Linked DNA regions of Homo sapiens: region 2 is linked to region 1. The links are contacts of gene promoters, found by promoter capture Hi-C in human tissues and cell types (Jung and others, 2019). All regions are on one chromosome and are shown on one strand. The core of a region is centred on a gene start or on the middle of the fragment in contact, and the rest is flanking DNA. Distances in the headings are between cores, read along the strand shown. Region 1 holds the start of PLXDC1 (plexin domain containing 1). Region 2 has its middle 18 kb from the start of FBXO47.

The links. The method cuts DNA at HindIII sites, captures the fragments that hold promoters and counts their contacts. A contact is called where the count stands out against the background at its distance.
Region 2: a contact is called between a fragment that was not itself captured here and the fragment with the promoter of PLXDC1 in region 1, in 3 of the 25 tissues and cell types used here (dorsolateral prefrontal cortex, neural progenitor cells and spleen).

Annotation. Positions count from the first base shown.
Region 1 is chr17:39,150,361-39,153,060 of GRCh38, reverse strand. PLXDC1 (plexin domain containing 1) reads left to right here and starts at 1,424. Exons shown (of 14, transcript NM_020405.5): 1 at 1,424-1,699. The coding sequence starts at 1,624. The HindIII fragment of the contact is 18,756 bases long and covers 1-2,700 here.
Region 2 is chr17:38,983,929-38,986,628 of GRCh38, reverse strand. No RefSeq gene overlaps it. Among named protein-coding and RNA genes, the nearest start is that of FBXO47, 18 kb to the right of the region's middle. The HindIII fragment of the contact is 7,886 bases long and covers 1-2,700 here.

The sequences.
Region 1 (2,700 bases), core at 175-2,674:
TCACGTGGCCACTTGAGGGCAGCAAGTAGCTGCAGCTGGAGGTAGCTGCCTATCTGATTCTGTTTGAGAGTCCGCCAAGTTGGGATTTAAATTAGACATCAAGAAGAATTTACAGACCGGCCTTGCCTTGTTCCACGGTAAGGGGACATTGGGTTTAGGGCTGGAGGAGGTAGTCTCTGGGACTCTGGGCCCGGCGGAAGGAGGAACCGGCGTTCTAAGAGATTAGAGAGCCTTTAGTTGTTTCCTTTCTTAGGTGTTTTTTTTTCTTTTCTTTTCTTTTTTTTTTTTTTAACCTCAGTGCCACGGAATCCGTCTCTTCCAGCCCACAGTGTACCTTCTCCTGTCCCCGCCCATATCCCTCCTCCTGGAAAATTTCTCCAATGGCGCTCAGCGTTCGCACCCTTCCTCTCCGCGGTTTTCTAGTCCCTAGGCCCCAGCCCACTAGAAGCCAGGATGCCCCCTCACCCCGTCTCCCACTCTCCAGCGCCCCAGCTCCTTGCCGTCACAAGAACGAAGTAGGTCAGGGGAGGGAAGAGGCATCTTCGTGTCCTGACCTGATTCCTTGCCGTCTATTAAATATCCTACATTGCGGGTATTTTTATTCTGTCCTGGAAGAAAAAATAAAAAGATTATCTATCCCCAGAGCCTGTCAGAAGGTGGTGACAGGTGGGGTGAGCCATTTCCTCGTCTGGGGCTGGCTCTGAAGATTGATTGGGTCTGGCCCTGAGTAGGCCTGGAGGCCCCAGAGAGGCAGGAGGCCTGGGTTACCTACTCGTGGGGAGGGGTCCAGACTGTTGCAGAGTAAGGGGTAGCCAGGCCCCCTCCACCCTCACGTCTGCTAGGCTTGGGGGGCAAATCGGTGCTGGAAATGGGGGGTGGAGGGATAAGGTGGAGTCATGGAAGGGGGGTGGGATTCAGGCCCCTCTTGGGGAGAAAAGCTGGGGGTCTTTGCTGCAGGGGGAGATTTCTGGGGGTGGGGGCTGGAGGACAAAGCATCAGAGACGCACAGAATTCCGAAGAACAGCTCAGGAAGTCGCAGAGCTTGGAGGAGCTGGGGGCGGGGAACAGTCAGGGGCCCGTGACCCAGGGATGGGGCGCCTGTCCCTTCCAGGGGTCCAGTCCTCGGGCCTTCTCTCTGCAGCTTTCCCGGCGGAACGGAGGAGGGAAAGGGAGCCAGGAGCTCAGTGAGGAGCGCGGGGCGGCTGATGCTTCTAGGGGTTCTCTCAGCCCGAGGGGCTCCCGCCCTGTCCCCTACTCTGCACCCCTTGCCTTGGGAGCGGCTGCAGAGCTCTAGGGGAGCGCTCCGTTAGGGCTGAGGGCAGGCGCCGGGAGAGCCCCCAACGACGCCGCGCCCCCCGCCCCGCCCCCTGCCCCAGCTCCCCCCCACCCCCACCGACCCAGCGGCCCCCCCAGCTCCCCGCCTGCTCCCGGAGGCCGCAGCCTCCAGCTCCGCTCGCGCTCTCGCCGCTCCTGCCGGCTCGCCCGGCCCCGCGCTCCGCCGTCTCCTCGCCGCCCGCCCCTCCGCCAGCCCCGGGGACCGCGCGGCCGCAGCCTGAGCCAGGGCCCCCTCCCTCGTCAGGACCGGGGCAGCAAGCAGGCCGGGGGCAGGTCCGGGCACCCACCATGCGAGGCGAGCTCTGGCTCCTGGTGCTGGTGCTCAGGGAGGCTGCCCGGGCGCTGAGCCCCCAGCCCGGAGCAGGTAGGACTGGCGGGAGCCGGCCCGGGTGGGCCGGGGGCGGGGAGGGACGGGCAGTCAGGTGTGGGCATGGGCAGGTGTGGACGGCCTGGCGATGTCCGCGAGGGGGGCATTGTCCGCAGGAGGCCAGGAGAGCTGTGGGCTGTGGGCAGGTGGATAGGGACCCCACTTTCCCAAACACATAGGGTGTGTGAGTGACGGTGGAGACACCGATGCCCGGACCTCTCCTTCTCTCCTGGAAGGATACTGGAGGGACCTTAGGAGAGGGGGCTCTATGTGGCCATGGGCTCTGAAAGGGGACAGCGGGAGAGTCATCAGGACCCCTGATCACCCCAGGCAAGGCTGAATTCTGATGAGATGGGAGCCTGGGGAGGCCCCTGCCCCAGCCATGCCTTCTTTTCCTCTTCTCTGCCACACCCCCGACCCCAAAGCTGATCCAGGCTAGGGATAGGTGGGAGCAGCCAGGGGGATGGTGGGGACACAGCGTCTCTGCCTGGGAAGGCAGCAGCCATTCGGTCACCTTCCCTTGCCTATTTGGTGTCAGTAGAGAGGCAGTGGGCCCAGGAAGAAGCAACTTGCTGCTTCTGCACCCCCAGCCTCAAGAGTCCCCCTCCTCACACCTGCTCCCATTTGCCCTGGCAGCCTTTGGCTTTCAGCTACTCTGGCTCTAGATGGGGCACTGGGGTAGGGGGTGGAGGGAGGCGTCCCATTCTGCACACTCCTCTTCCCCCCTACCAGTTCTCCAAACTCATCTCTCCCACCTGGAAGTCCTTTCTGAGATCTACCTGGAATCCCTCATGGTATAATTTTCATAGTCTCTGTTCTCCCCTAAGCACCTAGACTTTCTCTGGGGTTGGGGAGATGGGTAATTTGCAGCCTGGCCCCTCAGCAGAGATGATTAAGAAGATAGATACCTGTGCATCATTGGCATGGGTGCCCCTCAGGTGGGGTGAGGGAGGCGCTGTTGAGGTGAGTGCTGTGGTTGACCTGCTGTGTCTCAGGAG
Region 2 (2,700 bases), core at 186-2,685, 170 kb after region 1:
GGTCAGGCTGGTCTCGTACTCCTGATCTCAGGTGGTCCATTCGCCTTGGCCTCCCAAAGTGCTGGGATTACAGGCGTGAACCACTGCGCCCAGCCAACATGCATGATTTTGTATGCATGCTATATTTCTGTTAAAATTTTAAGCACTTATATACATATAAATATTAGGAATACAAACACATGTGGTAAAACTATAATTAAAAACAAAGGAATTTAAAAACATGAATTCAGGATAATGGTTACCTCCAAGGAGAGAAAGAAGGGAGGGGACCTAGGAGGGAATCCCAGTGGACTTCAAAGTTCACAATGATGTTGTTCCTCACGTTTCTTACATGAGTGGTGGGGAATACATAAGGGTCCATTGTATCATGATTCTTTATTACTTTATATATTTTGCAAATATTATTTTGATCTCTTCAATATTTAATAATTTTTTTTGAGACAAGGTCTCACTCTGTCACCCAGGCTGGAGTGCAGTGGCGTGAACGTGGCTCACTCTAGCCTCAACCTCCCAGGCTCACGTGATCCTCCCACCTCAGCCTCCCAGGTAGCTGGGACTACAGGTGGGTGCCACCATGCCTAGTTCATTTTTTACATTTTTTGGTAACATTTTTGGTTTCATCATGTTACCCAGGCTGGTCTCAAACTCCTGGGCTCAAGTGATCCTCCCATGTCAGCCTATCAAAGTGCTGGGATTATAGGTATGAGCCACCACACCTGGCCATAAATGTAATTTTAAAAGACATTCCTAACAATATAGTTTTTTTGTTGTTGTTTAAGTTTGGGCTTTATTTGTAAATCTGGCTCAGTGTCAACACCAAGGCCATCTACTTGATTGGACTTGTCTAGACTGCTTCTTTTCCTAATGCCTTTGTGGTGCTGTGTGATGACCATAACCCTCAGAAAAAATACTTGTGATGGACAATTTCAATACATAGTAAACTATCATTCTTCTTTATGCAAGTGGCTAAAAGGAGAAAATGGCCCTTTTCGGGGTAAAGTTTTACTGAGGCTCCTCAGGTACCTCGAAGGGTACAAACCGGGCCACTATGTCCTTTGGCTGCGTGCAGCCCATTAGCTTCCTCGGCCATTTTCCAACGTTAACAAAGGAACAATACCTAAAATACAGCCTCAGGACAGACGTGGTGCCTCACTCCCATAATCCCAGCACTTTGGGAGGCCAAGGAGGGCGGATCACTTGAGGCCAGGAGTTCAACACCACCCTCACCGACATGGTGAAACCCTGTCTCTACAAAAAACACAAAAATTAGCCGGGTGTGGGGATGCATGCCTGTAATTCCAGCTACTCGGGAGGCTGAAGCAGGAGAATCACCTGAACCTGGGAGGCAGAAGTTGCAGTGAGCTGAGATCATATCACTGTACTCCAGCCTGGGTGATGGAACAAGACTCCGTCTCAAAAAATAAATAAATAAAATAAATAAAATACAGCCACATAAGTAGCCTGTCATGTTTGATAATAAAAACATTTTTCTAGGATAAAGTACCAAGTATCTCTACTATTACATCAGAAAGTATGTACAGCTTATTATAATGGGAGTCCAGAGAGCTGCTTAGCTGAGCCCCCATTGTCACAAAGGGTCATCAAATTCAAACTTTGACGTCATCTCCAAATGAGAGCACAACAGTCTCAAAAATGAGCAAGAATGAAGATATCCCTACAACTTTATGTTGTTGCTTTGAAAAAAAAAAAAAAGAAGAAATGAAGATATTCATTATACAGCCTTAAGCATATGTCCCAATACCAGCCCACACACTTTCTTTAGTGCCCTGTGAATTAATATTTCATATGTCCTATTATTACCTTATGACTGGCACAGTTATATTGCAATGTATTCCTTGGTTTGGAATTCTAACTTATTAAACATAAATTTTTTTAATGTAACACAAATTTTATAACACTGCTTTGGTGTTTCTTCGTTTTGTAATATGAGCTTTTAAAATTTTGGGTTGGTTGTCTTTGACTTTGTAATGAAAAAAAATTGACAGATTGACAGAGCACGGTGGCTCACACCTATAATCCCAACACTTTGGGAGGCTAGGGTGGGCAGATGACCTGAGGACAGGAGTTCAAGACCAGCTTGGCCAATATAGTAAAACCCTGTCTCTACTAAAAAATACAAAAAATTAGCCAGGTGTGGTGGCAGGTGCCTGTAATCCCAGCTACTCAGGAGGCTGAGGCAGGAGAATTGCTTGAACCTGGGAGGCAGAGGTTGCAGTGAGCCAAGATTATACCACTGAACTCCAGCCTGGGTAACAGAGGGAGACTCAGTCTCAAAAAAAAAAAAAAAAAAAAAGGTGGAGAGAGGGGAAGTTCTGGAAATATCCCAAAGCTTTTTCTATCATAACTTAATATTATATTTTTATGTCTAATTAAATTTGCAGCCAGGTACAGTGGCTCACATCTGTAATCCGAGCACTTTGGGAGGCTGAGGCAGGAGGATTGCTTGAGCCTATAAGATTGAGGCTGCAGTGAGCCATGATTTGTGCCACTGTACTCCAGCCTGAGTGACAGAGCAAGACCCTGTCTCCAAAAATAAAAATAATTTTGCTTACACTGAGCATAATATGCATAGTGAAATCTGCATAGTGTGACATATTTCAAGGAATTTATTTATTTATTTATTTATGACAGGGTCTTGCTATATTTCCCAGGTTTTAATTTGCAGTGTATTCACAGGCA